Linked DNA regions of Homo sapiens: regions 2, 3 and 4 are each linked to region 1. The links are contacts of gene promoters, found by promoter capture Hi-C in human tissues and cell types (Jung and others, 2019). All regions are on one chromosome and are shown on one strand. Each heading gives the region's core, a stretch centred on a gene start or on the middle of the fragment in contact. The rest is flanking DNA. Distances are from core to core; before and after follow the strand shown.

What was found. The method cuts DNA at HindIII sites, captures the fragments that hold promoters and counts their contacts. A contact is called where the count stands out against the background at its distance.
Region 2: a contact is called between a fragment that was not itself captured here and the fragment with the promoter of CREB3L3 in region 1, in 10 of the 25 tissues and cell types used here (IMR-90 fibroblasts, bladder, dorsolateral prefrontal cortex and 7 more).
Region 3: a fragment that was not itself captured here is called in contact with the fragment with the promoter of CREB3L3 in region 1 in 8 of the 25 tissues and cell types used here (IMR-90 fibroblasts, adrenal gland, aorta and 5 more).
Region 4: the fragment with the promoter of SHD here is called in contact with the fragment with the promoter of CREB3L3 in region 1 in 2 of the 25 tissues and cell types used here (dorsolateral prefrontal cortex and mesenchymal stem cells).

The regions. Positions count from the first base shown.
Region 1 is chr19:4,152,082-4,155,073 of GRCh38, reverse strand. CREB3L3 (cAMP responsive element binding protein 3 like 3) reads right to left here and starts at 1,443. Exons shown (of 10, transcript NM_032607.3): 1 at 1,300-1,443; 2 at 47-175. The coding sequence starts at 1,326. The HindIII fragment of the contact is 37,156 bases long and covers 1-2,992 here.
Region 2 is chr19:4,047,110-4,050,315 of GRCh38, reverse strand. ZBTB7A (zinc finger and BTB domain containing 7A) reads left to right here. Exons shown (of 3, transcript NM_015898.4): 3 at 2,072-3,206. The coding sequence ends at 2,564. Among named protein-coding and RNA genes, the nearest start is that of ZBTB7A, 18 kb to the left of the region's middle. The HindIII fragment of the contact is 9,621 bases long and covers 1-3,206 here.
Region 3 is chr19:4,024,680-4,028,006 of GRCh38, reverse strand. All of the region lies in intron 3 of PIAS4 (protein inhibitor of activated STAT 4), which reads right to left. Among named protein-coding and RNA genes, the nearest start is that of PIAS4, 19 kb to the right of the region's middle. The HindIII fragment of the contact is 6,301 bases long and covers 1-3,327 here.
Region 4 is chr19:4,277,757-4,280,697 of GRCh38, reverse strand. SHD (Src homology 2 domain containing transforming protein D) reads right to left here and starts at 1,432. Exons shown (of 6, transcript NM_020209.4): 1 at 338-1,432. The coding sequence starts at 634. The HindIII fragment of the contact is 14,506 bases long and covers 1-2,941 here.

The DNA of each region.
Region 1 (2,992 bases), core at 194-2,693:
CGCCTGGAGCTCTGTGGTCCCGGGGCAACTGCAGTGGACTCCTCACCTGGTCCTTGACGTGACCCCAGCCCTCGCCCAGCTCCACGTGTCTCAGGATGCCGTCCTGCCGGTCAAACAGGAGATCCAGGAGCTCAAAGCTGTCGATGGGGTCCATGGAGCAGGCAGCAGAAGCCATCTGGGGCGCGAGGAACAGATGTGAGGGTCACATACAGCCCCTGTCCTCCCCACCTCCCATGTGCACATAACCCTGGCTCTTTCCGGCTAGAGTTCAGTTGCCGCTCTGCCTCCGGGTTGGGCCAGCTGCTGCCCCTCGCTGAGACTCCCTTTCCAAATCTGGACTTTGAGGCTGATAGAGAGAATTCCACAGTGTGAGAGCCAATTTCTCTTAAAGTGCTGGAGAGGCTGGATGTGGTGGCTCATGCCTGTAATCTCAGCACTTTGGGAGGCCGGGGCAGGAGGATCACTTGAGCCCAGGAGTTCAAGACCAGCCTGCGCAACATAGAGACCCCTATCCCTACTGCAAATAATTTAAAAAAATTAGCTGGCTGCGGTGGCACACACTTGTCGTCCCAGCTACTGGGGAGGCTGAGGTAGGAGGATCCCTTGAACCCAGGAGGTTGAGGCTGCAGTGAGCTATGGCCACCCCACTGCACTCCACCCTGGGTCACAGAGCAAGACCTTGTTTCAAAAAACAAAAAAGTATGGCAGGCACGGTGGCTCACATCTGTAATCCCAGCACTCTGGGAAGCCGAGGCGGGCAGCTCACCTGAAGTCAGGAGTTTGAGACCAGCCTAGCCAACATGGTGAAACCCTGTCTCTAGGAAAAGTACAAAAATTAGCCGGGCGTGGTGGTGCACACCTGTAATCCCAACTACTTGGGAGGCTGAGGCAGGAAGATCTCTTGAACCCAGGAGGTGGAAGTTGCAGTGAGCTGAGATCGTGCCATTGCACTCTAGCCTGGGTGACAGAGGGAGACTCCATCTCAAAAAATAAAAATAAAAATAAAATAAAATAAAATAAAAAGTGCTGGAGAGAGGCCCTAGCTAGAGATGCCGCTTGCCTCTCAGGCCTTCACAGCCTCCCCAAGTGCCCGCTCCTAGGAGGCAGGGGGACCTGGAAGAAAGACAAGGGCAGCCCCGGGGCAAAGGCACACAGTTTTGCTCATTGCATCCTTTCTCTGGGCCTCAGTCTTCCCATCTGTACAATAGGGGTGGAGATGGGGTCCTTCCAGCTCTGGCAGCTTGGGTAGGCTTTCCCAGCCTAGACTCCCGCTCTCCCTGGGGACCTAGTAGGGCTCACCTTTCCAGCAGCTAAATCCGTATTCATGGGTCCATCCAGTTCTGTCTGCAGATGCCTCGGGGGGTCTCTGCTCCAAGCTGGAGGCCCACCCACCGCCAGCGTTACCTGGGGCCGGGCAAGCTCACAGCCCTCTGTGGCTCTGTCACCACTCCCAAAAGATGCTGAAGCGGTCACAGGCAGCTCCCAGCCCACCTCCAGGTGCTGATTGGTGGACAGGGTGGAGAGACAGGGTTGAGGGCCAGTGACACTGGGGCAGGCAGGAGCAGGGGAGGGAAGACCGTTATCTGGGTGTTTTGTGGTTTTCCAGCCCTCAGTGAGCAAAGGTCGAAGTCTGGGGTACCTCCACTCTGCCGTGACCTCTGCCCTACTTATGAGGACTTTTTCTTTTTTTCTTTCTTTTTTGAGACGGAGTCTCGCTCTGTGGCCCAAGCTGGAGTGCAGTGGTGCCATCTCATTTCGGCTCACTGCAACCTCTGCCTCTTGGGTTCAAGTGATTCTCCTGCCTCAGCCTCCCGAGTAGCTGGGACTACAGGTCCCCATCACCATGCCCGGCTAACTTTTGTATTTTTAGTAGAGACGAGGTTTCATCATGTTTTCCAGGCTGGTCTCGAACTCCTGACCTCGTGATCGGCCCCTCAGTCTCCCAAAGTGCGGGGATTACAGGCGTGAGCCACCGCACCCGGCCAGTTACAGGACTTTTTCTCTTCAGAATTCCCAGATGGGTTCTGGGATAGCCCAGGGCCCTTACATGGGTCCTGTCCACTCCCTGGACAGAAACAAACCAAGAGGACCAGACCAGATCTTCACTGAAGCCAGTTTTCCTGCCAGCAGCTAGCGGCTCCCATCCTTCACCCCACCTGCCAACCTCCGGCCCCCAGCCCCCTCCGAAACCAGCTTGGACTCCGCCTCTGAGTCCCCATGGGTGATTCTGTGCAATCAATTCTCTCTAGAATCTTCTATCGTTCATTGAGTCAACAAATATTTATGGAGCCAAACTGGTTCCTGCTTAGGGCCTTTGCACCTACTCACCTGCTCGCCCCTCTGCCTGGAACTCTCCTCTTGTACCCTCCCTCTTCCCCTCTGGCTCTAGGTCACTGTATTGACATTTTAGTGAATGTTCGATATTTGTGAATCAGCCCGGGTGGCTGAGAGGTGTCTCTGACCTCCCCTCCACCCCCTACCAAGAGAGAGGAGCCCTGTTTTGTTTTTTTGTTTTTTTTTTTGGTGTTGGTGGAGGACAGGGTCTCACTCTATTGCCCAGGCTGGAGTGCAGTGGCAGGATCATAGCTCACTGCAGCCTCCAACTCCTGGGTTCAAGTGATCCTCCCGTCTCAGCCTCCCAAGTAGCTAGGACTGCAGGCGTGCACCACCACACCTGGCTAATTTTGTTTTTTTTTTTTTATAGAGATGGGGTCTTACTGTGTTGGCCAGTATGGTCTCAAACTCCTGGGCTCAAATGATCCACCTGCTTCAGCCTCCCAAAGTGCTGGATTTACAGGCATGAGCCACTGTGCCCAGGCAAAGTCCCCCTTTAGCAGATGACATATTAGACCAAGCGTGGTGGCTCACATCTGTAATGCCAGCACTTTGGGAGGCCGAGGTGGGTGGATCACCTGAGGTCAAGAGTTTGAGACCAACCTGGCCAACATGGTGAAACCCCATCTGTACTAAAAATATAAAAATTAGATGGGTG
Region 2 (3,206 bases), core at 164-2,663, 100 kb after region 1:
GCCGAGGCAGGCGGATCACTTGAGGTCAGGAGTTCAAGACCAGCCCAGCCAACATGGTGAAAACCCTGTCTCCATTAAAAATACAAAAATCAGCCAGGTGTGGTGGCGCACGCCTGTAATCCCAGCGTTTGGGGAGGCCGAGGCGGGTGGATCACCTGAGGTCAGGAGTCCGAGACCAGCCCGGCCAACATGGTGAAACCCCGTCTCTACTAAAAATACAAAAATGAGCCAGGTGTGGTGGCAGAGGGCCTGTAATCCCAGCTACTTGGGAGGCTGAGGCAGAAGAATTGCTTGAACCCGGGAGACGGAAGTTGCAGTGAGCGGAGACCACACCACTGCGCTCAAGCCTGGAAGATAGAGCGAGACTCGGTCTCAGAAAAAAAAACAATAGAAGAGTCAGGTGGTGATGACAGGAGGATGGAGACAGGGCTGGGGAAGGAGGTGACATTTGAGCCCAAATTTGACTGTGAAGATCCAGGAGGAAAAAAGAAAGTACCCCGGACTGCGGGAGCAGCACATGCAAAGGCCCCAGCGTAGCTTGTGCTTTGCACCTTTGCACGTCAGGGTGGAGCCCAGATAGGGGAGTGACGCTGAAGTGAGGGGAGAGTGGGCAGTCCTGGGTGTCGTGGGGTGGGGACTTGGTTACTAGGGTGACCAACTGCCCCACTTTGTCCCGGACAGAGGGGTTTCCCAGGATGCAGGACTTTCAGTGCTAAAACCAGAACAGTTGGTCACCCTATCTGTCACCAAACACCTCGGCCGCCGCCAGCCTCGAGAGGGCAGGGATGTTTGCCTGTCTTGTTCCTTGCGGTATTTTCAGCACCTGGAACAGGGCCTGGCCCTCAGCGGGCGCTCGGCAAAGGTCTGTGGCATGAATGAAGGCACCAGGCACTGGCTGGCCTCATCCTACCCCAGGGGTAGGGGCAGGATGGAGTGGCAGAAGCCCACTGTCTCCTTCTGTGGTAGGGAAAGGGGTTCATGGCGGGCGCAGTGGCTCACACCTGTAATCCTAGAGCTTTGAGAGGCCGAGGCAAGAGGATCACTTGAGCCCAGGAGTTTGAGATTAGCCTGGGTAACGTAGCTCAACCCCCATCTCTCAAACTTACATATATATATATATATATATATATATATATATATATATATACACACACACACACACACACATATAGTTTAATAGCTATTTAATAGGGTGTGGTGGTGCGTGTGCTACTCTGGAGGATGAGGCAGGACGATGGCTTGAGCCCAGGAGTTCGAGGCTGCAGGGAACCGTGATCACGCCACTGCCCTCCAGCCTGGGGGACAAAGCCAGACCCTGCCTCTCTTTTTTTTTTTTTTTGGAGACAGTCTCATTCTGTCACCGAGGTTGGAGGGCAGTGGCGTGATCTGGGCTCACTGCAACCTCCACCTCCCAAGTAGCTGGGATTATAGGCCTGCGCCACCACGCCTGGCAGATTTGTTTTTTGAGACGGAGTTTCGCTCTTAAAAAGTGAAATTTTTTTTTTTGAGACGGAGTTTCACTGCAACCTCCACCTCCCAGATACAAGTGATCCTCCTGCCTCAGCCTTCCTAATAGCTGGCATTACGGGCGCCTGCTACCATGCCCGGCTGATTTTTGTTTTTTGTTTTTTTGTTTTTTGTTTTTTTAGTAGAGACAGGGTTTCACCGTGTCGATCAGGCTGGTCTCGAACTCCTGGCCTCAAGTGATCCGCCCGCCTCGGCCTCCCAAAGTGCTGGGATTTCAGGCCTGAGCCTCCGCGCCTGGCCTAGACTTTGTCTCTTAAAAAGTTAAAAAAGGAAAGGAAACGGGGTTCAGAGAGGCATAGCGTTTTCCCAAGGCCACACAGCACTCAGGGTCCGAGGCCCTCTTTAGATGTTCAGAATGCGAAATCGCCCCCACTCGTCTCGTTTTTCGAGGGACCGTCCCCATCGGGGCACCGAAACCTCTGGTGCACGGTCCGTGTTCTGCAAGGGTGATGATCCAGGGCCTGCCGTGTCCGTGAGGGTCCCTGGGCGGGGATCGGGGGTCCCCGGCCCCACTGACCGTGCCCGCCCCGTGCCCCGTCCACAGGCAGGACAAGCTGAAGGTGCACATGCGGAAGCACACGGGCGAGAAGCCGTACCTGTGCCAGCAGTGCGGCGCCGCCTTTGCCCACAACTACGACCTGAAGAACCACATGCGCGTGCACACGGGCCTGCGCCCCTACCAGTGCGACAGCTGCTGCAAGACCTTCGTCCGCTCCGACCACCTGCACAGACACCTCAAGAAAGACGGCTGCAACGGCGTCCCCTCGCGCCGCGGCCGCAAGCCCCGCGTCCGGGGCGGGGCGCCCGACCCCAGCCCGGGGGCCACCGCGACCCCCGGCGCCCCCGCCCAGCCCAGCTCCCCCGACGCCCGGCGCAACGGCCAGGAGAAGCACTTTAAGGACGAGGACGAGGACGAGGACGTGGCCAGCCCCGACGGCTTGGGCCGGTTGAATGTAGCGGGCGCCGGTGGAGGAGGTGACAGCGGAGGTGGCCCCGGGGCCGCCACCGACGGTAACTTCACAGCCGGACTCGCCTAAAAACCAAAAAGAGAAAACAGAAACCCGAGAAAGAGAGAGACAGAGAGAGAGAAAAAAAATCACCCACCACCCCCCCAAAAACACAAAAAAAGAAAATCTATCTATATACAGATATCTATATCTATATATATATATACAGATATATATATATGACGCGTCACAGAATCTAGGGTAGCGCTTTCTCAGATTTCCCTCCTTTCTGACGTTTTTCTCCCTCCGCAGGGGCCCCGGCCCTCCCTGGCTCCCCTTCCCCCCACCACCCCATCGCTGGGTTTCGGGGCTTGGTTTGGGGTTTTTTGTAGGACACAAGGAATCCGAGACCCCGCACAGCCCCCTGGGCACCCGGCATGGGGCCTGGGGCCCGATCCGAGGCCCTGGGCTGGGGGGAGGGTAGACGTGGGGGCGCTGGGGGGGGACTGGGGTGGGCTTTTAATTTCCTCCCCTCGCTGGTTTCTATGAGTCTTTCAGACAAGACCTTAAATGATTTCTGTCTGCTCTGAGCGGACGTTAAAATGGGCCCCCGTCCCCCGACCCGCACCCTCCTTCCTCAGGGCACTTACTAAGGGAGGGGTCTCCCTCTCCATCTCCCCAGTGGCCTCCCCGCCTCCAACCCTGCCTGCGGCCTCCCCCCGTCGCCCACCC
Region 3 (3,327 bases), core at 364-2,863, 130 kb after region 1:
TTTTGTACGGGCTGGGTGAGAGGAGTGGCTGTGAGGTCAGGAGAGGGGCTGGCCTCCCTGGAAAATGCAACAGAATCCACAGCAAAACCCTGAACCAGAGAGGGCAGCCAGGTGCCTCTCCCTGCGAAGAAACATAGCTAAAACGTGCATGCGGGAATCTAGCAGCTGGCTCACAATGGCAAGAAAACACCCAGTTTGGGAGGTCAAGGCTGGCGGAGCTCTTGAGCCCAGGAATTTGAGACGAGCCTGCGCAACATGGTGAAACTGTCTCCACAAAAAATTACCCAGGCGTGGTGGTGCACACCTGTGGTCCCAGCTGCTTGGAGGCTGAGGCAGGGGGATCGTCTGAACCCATGGAGGCACAGGCTGCAAGCTATGATTGCACCACTGCACTCCAGCCTGGGTAACAAAGAGAAACACTCTCCAAAAAAAAAAAAACAAAAACCAGTAACACCTGAGGATAAACTTTAACAAGAAACGCCCCCAGAAGAAGAGGAAAAAGTCTATCTACCCAAAGACGCATCCGTGGATGTTCACAGCAGAACTGACCACAACAGCCACAAACTAGCAGCATCCTGAGTGTCCTTCCGTAGACCGAAGGACCAACACGCACGGGACGCGACCCAGCCATGGAAAGGAGCCAGGCTCAGACCCAGGCCTCAGCACAGGTGCACCGTGAGGATGTCCCACCCAGTGAGAGACGCCAGACACGAAAGGACACACAAGGCAGGTGGCTCACGCCAGTAACCCTGGCACTTTGGGAGGCGGAGGTGGGTGGGTCACTTGAGGTCAGGAGTTCGAGACAAGCCTGGGCAATATGGTGAAACCTCGTCTCTACTAAAAATACAAAAATTAGGCCAGGTGCAGTGGCTCACGCCTGTAATCCCAGCACTTTGGGAGGCCGAGGCGGGCGGATAACAAGGTCAGGAGATCGAGACCCTCCTGGCTATCATGGTGAAACCCCGTCTCTACTAAAAATACAAAAAAAAAAATCAGCCAGGCGTGGTGGCGGGTGCCTGTAGTCCCAGCTACTTGGGAGGCTGAGGCAGGAGAATGGCGTGAACCCAGGAGGCAGAGCTTGCAGTGAGCCAAGATCGTGCCACTGCACTCCAGCCTGGGCCTCGGAGTGTGACTCTGTCTCAAAAAAAATACAAATATTAGCTGAGTGTGGTGGTGCACGCCTGTAATCCTAGCTAGTCAGAAGTCTGGGGCAAGAGAATCACTTGAACCTGGGAGGCGGAGATTGCAGTGAACTGAGATCGCGACACTGCACTCCAGCCTGGGCGACAGAGTGAGATTCTGTCTTAAATAATAATAATAAACGAAAGCCACATAGTATGTGATTCCACTTCTATGAAATGTCCAGGACAGACCCATTTACAGACAGGAGGGGATGCGTGGGGGCCAGTGGATGAAGGGTGGCAGCTGCTGGGGATGGACATGACTGCCCTGAGACTAGGCAGTGGTGGGAGCTGCGATACCTACTGATCCACGAGAACCCACTCGATGACACCCTTAAAAACTGTATATTCTATGGTATGCAAATCATATCTCGACATAAGAAAAAGAAATGTGGGATGGGCAGGGTGGCTCACGCCTGTAATCCCAGCACTTTGGGAGGCAGATGTGGGGTGGATCACGAGGTCAAGAGATTGAGATCATCTTGGCCAACATGGTGAAACCCTGTCTCTACTAAAAATACAAAAATTAGCCAGGCGTGGTGGTGCGCACCTGTAGTCCCAGCTACTCGGGAGGCTGAGTCAGGAGAATCGCTTGAACCTGGGAGGCAGAAGTTGCAGTGAGCCGACATCACGCCACTGCACTCCAGCCTGGCGACAGAGCGACTTCATTTCAAAAAAAAAAAAGAAAAAGAAAAAGAAATGTCCAGAAGCTTTCTGAGGAGAAAACCAAACTTTTTTTTTTTTTTTTTTTTGAGACGGAGTCTCCCTTTGTTGCCCAGGCTGGAGTGCAGTGGCAGGATCTCGGCTCACTGCAAGCTCCGCCTCCCGGGTTCACGCCATTCTCCTGCCTCAGCCTCCCGAGTAGCTGGGACTACAGGCGCCCGTCACCACACCCGGCTAATTTTTTTGTATGTTTGGTAGAGACGGGGTTTCACTGTGTTAGCCAAGATGGTCTCGATCTTCTGACCTCGTGATCCACCTGCCTTGGCCTCCCAAAGGGCTGCGATTACAGTTGTGAGCCACCGTGCCCAGCCCAAACTGATTTTTTTATACTGTGTGGCTGGCTCTGAGCACTCTGCAGCAGGGACCCAGTGCAGGTGGAGGCTGTGCTGACCCAGGTACATAGACAAGGAAGACGAGGCTGAGAAAGACGAGGTCGCCACCTTGGGTCACCCAGGCAGAGAGGCCTCCATGGCCAAGCCTGGCTCGGCTGGATCTGAACCCTTACTAGGTGTGAGGGCCAGGCTGGGAGGCCCCAGGAACCTGGCCCCACAGCAGGTGGGGGCGGTGGGTCTGAAGCGGCTGGGCACGAGAAGCTAGGCATTAAATGGGGGCGCCCGGCCCAGCCCTGCCATGGACTCAGGGGTGACCTGGGCAAATGGCCTCCCCTGTCCTAAGGGCCCAGCACCTACCATTAGCCTGCCCAGCAGGAATCTGTCTCAGCTGGAGGCAGTACAGCCTCGGAGAGACTGAGGGAGGAGCAGAGCGCAGGGCAGCCACACTGGCCCCTCACCTGCCACAGTTCAACCGTCCTCATCTGAGGACGACCCTGCCCCAGGCGACACCGAGCTGTGTCTGGGGACATCTGTGGTTGTCAGAGTTAGGGGTGTTCCTGGCACAGAGCAGGTGGAGGCCAGGGATGCTGCTCAGCAGCCTGCAGTGCCCAGGACGGCCCCACCGAGGGAACCATCCCACCTCACTATCCACGGTATGGAGGGGGAAACCCCGTATTCATTATATAACTGGGAAAAAACCTGACTTCCGCCAGGCGCAGTGGCTCACGCCTGTAATCCCAGCATTCTGGGAGGCTGAGGTGGGTGAATCACCTGAGTCAGGAATTCGAGACCAGCCTGATCAACATGGCAAAACCCTATCTCTACTAAAAATACAAGATTAGCCGGGCGTGGTAGTGAGCGCCTGTAATCCCAGCTACTTGGGAGGCTGAGGCAGGAGAATTGCTTGAATCCAGCAGGTGGAGGTTGCAGGAAGCCAAAATCGCGCCACTGCACTCCAGCCTGGAAGCCTGGATAACAAGAGCTACACTCAGTCTCAAAAAAAAAAAACAAAAAAACACCTGACTTAACTTCCTGCTCATGCTGGACACCAGAATAAATTCCTAAGGCGGGCGGTGTAAACCGGGGACCCC
Region 4 (2,941 bases), core at 183-2,682, 130 kb before region 1:
AAATTAGCCGGGTGTGGTGGCACACACCTGTAATCTCAGCTACTGGAGAGGCTGAGGCAGGAGAATCGCTTGAACCCCAGGAGGTGGAGGTTGCAATGAGCCGAGATCCCACCACTGCACTCCAGCCTGGGTGACAGGGGGAGACTGTCTCAAAATAAATAAATACATAAAAAGAACAGACTTCCCCAAGCAGGTGGAGGTCTGGAGGACTGGGAAGGGTCTGTCTGGTGCCCCAGTCCCCTCCTGTGATCACACATAAAATAAGCTCTCCACGATCCAGAGAGCCCATCCTGAGCCTCCCCTCCACCCAGTCTCCCCAGGCCACCCAGCCACGCACCTCCTCCCCGGGGCCGCCCAGAAGGGCCTTGGCTCTGGCCATATCCGCAGCCTCCACCTTGATGAGCCGGTGCTTGGGAGAACCATACTTGGCATCTCCGGGGTTCTTGGAGTCCCCAGGGCCCGCGGGGTCCGGCTCCAAGCGGCTCTCCGCGTCCTCATAGGGGTCCTCGAAGTCCAGGTTCTTCTGCGCGCGGTAGGCCCTCAGGATGTCGCTCTCGGTGTAGTCCGGGGTGGGCGGCTGCGGAGGGGGCCTCCGACCCCCAAAGCTCAGGTAGTCCCGTAGCCACTTGGCCATTTGGGCGCCTGTCACCCCAATCGGGCCACTGTCAGAGGGGCCCCCACATGCCCTTCTCCGGGCCCCTTTCCCCAAGGAGGAGGAGGAGGTGGAGAGGAAGGGAAGAGCAGGGAAGGATGAGAAAGATCAGGTGCGCCCTTTGGCGGGGCTCTGGATGGATAGAGGGAAGGAAAAGGTGAACGAGGGGGAGGAAAAGGAGGCGACAGAGGAGGGAGGAAGAGAAGCCCGCCTTAGCCCAGCTTGGGAAGCACCGCGGGGGAAGGGGGGACCTCGCAGGGCCCCGAACCCCGCGCGCTGGGGGCTAGGGCGAGGGGCATCCGCGGAGGCGCGCGGAGTTTCCGCGGGCAGCGCGGTTCCCTGGAGCGACACGGCCGCCCGCCGCCTCCAGGAAGCTCCGGGATCCCTTCCTGGGGTCGGGAGATCCGGGCCAGCGCCACCTGCGGACGCTCCCGGCCCCTCTCCCAGCCCGGACGCCTGGGTTCTCAGCGCAGCGGGCGGGCTCCCCAGGGGCGCGGGCGCCGCGCGCAAAGTTGGGCCGCGGAGACTGTGACCCCGGCGGGACGCATCCTTTGTCGCGCTCCTCTCGGCTCAGCGGGGAGCCCCCAGTCCCGCGGCCCCCGCCGCCTCGATCCGGCCCCAGCCACCCGCACAAAGGGAAATAAAAACCTCCTCCAATCCCCCTTCACGCTTTCGGAGAGACTTTCCCCGCCGCCGCCGGGAGGTGGGACGCTGGGGAGGGGGGCGCGCAGGAGGACGCCCCTGTTCCCACCAGCCCCGGGCCGCGTCCCGGGCAGCAGCGTCAAGGCTCCCCCACCTCCCCTCCGCCGCGTCCCCCGCCCCTCCCCTCCCCCTGCGCTCCCCTCGGAGGTGACTGAGACCTTCAGCTGTTCTGGGGAGGGAGGGAGCCGCTGCCCGCGGAGGGAAGGGGGGCTGGGGGCGGGAGTCGCCGGGGCCGAGGCCGCGGCAGCTGGACACTGACCGGGACGCCCGAGACTGGCCGCAGCGAGCGCGGAGCGCGGGAGGTGGGGAGCAGCTGGGAGTGACACTGCTGGGGAGGGGAGGGGAGAGGGAGAAGGAGGGGAGGGGGAAATTGCCCGGGAAATGGGGGACTGCACTTGACCGCCAAAAGGGGTGAAATTGACCAGCAGAGGGGGTGGGAATGACCGCCAGTGAGGGTCGAAATGGAACCGATGTCTGGCGGTGAAACGGACCGGGAGAGTGGGGATGTGCAAATTGGTGGAGAGGTCACTGGCTGAAATTGATATTGGAGCAGCAGAAGGAAGAGGGGGGCAAAGGAAGGGTGGGTGCGGATCGGGCTTCCCCTCCCCCAAGAGGGCTCTGCTCTGTGCCCCGCTCCCGCCCCAGAGGACTAATTGCGGGCAGGGGGAGGGTTGGGGGCAGCTGGCTTGGGGAAGGGAGATGGTATCTGTGCCTGGCGCCTGTCCTCTGCATCTGTCCTTTTGTGGCTTCTGGGGGCGGGGTGGGGGGGAGCGGTGGCGGGAAGAGGGGCAGAAGTGAGAGGGGTCTGGCCTGAACTGGCTGCCTGTTGTCAGCTGTCGTTGTCTGAGGGTGAGGGCACTGAGAGGTTTGGGGGGTGGGAGAGGAAAAGGGAGCCACTGGCCAATTTTCCAGTGCAGAACCGTTTTTTTTCTTTCCCCATAAGGGGGCTTGCCCAGTTCCTCCTAATGAGGGGAGTGAGAGAGGGGTGGTCAGGAAGGATGGGACCCCAGATTCTCTCCTCTTGTGGCCAGCCCCCTGGTCAGGCACAGGTCATAGCTTGGAGAGCACAGTTGGAGGACAAGACAGAAGTCAGAACCAACACTGCTATGACTGGGGCCTCCTGGCAGCCCGGCGGGGCTGAGGGCAGGGTCTGTCACTCCCTGAGTCTTGGTTTTCCTTATTTGAAAGATGTGGTTTCTAACAGGAAATCCCAGACAGCTCTAGGAAGGATTCCAGGAGGGACCGAGCTATCACCTGGCTTCCTCATTTTATGGATGGGGAAACCGAGGCACAGAGATGGGAGGGACTTGTTCAGAGCCACTCCACAGCTGATTCTGCCTGCACATCGCCGTGGGGCCTGGCCTAGGGTGGCACTGGAGTCTCTCTTTTTATTTTTTTGAGACGGAGCCTTGCTCTGTCCTCCAGGCTGGAGTGCCGTGTTGCGATCTCAGCTCACTGAAACCTCCACCTCCCAGGTCCAACCAATTCTCCTGCCTCAGCCTCCTGAGTAGCTGGGATTACTGCCACCACGCCCAGCTAATTTTTATATAATTTTATATTTTTAGTAGAGATGGGGTTTCACCACAT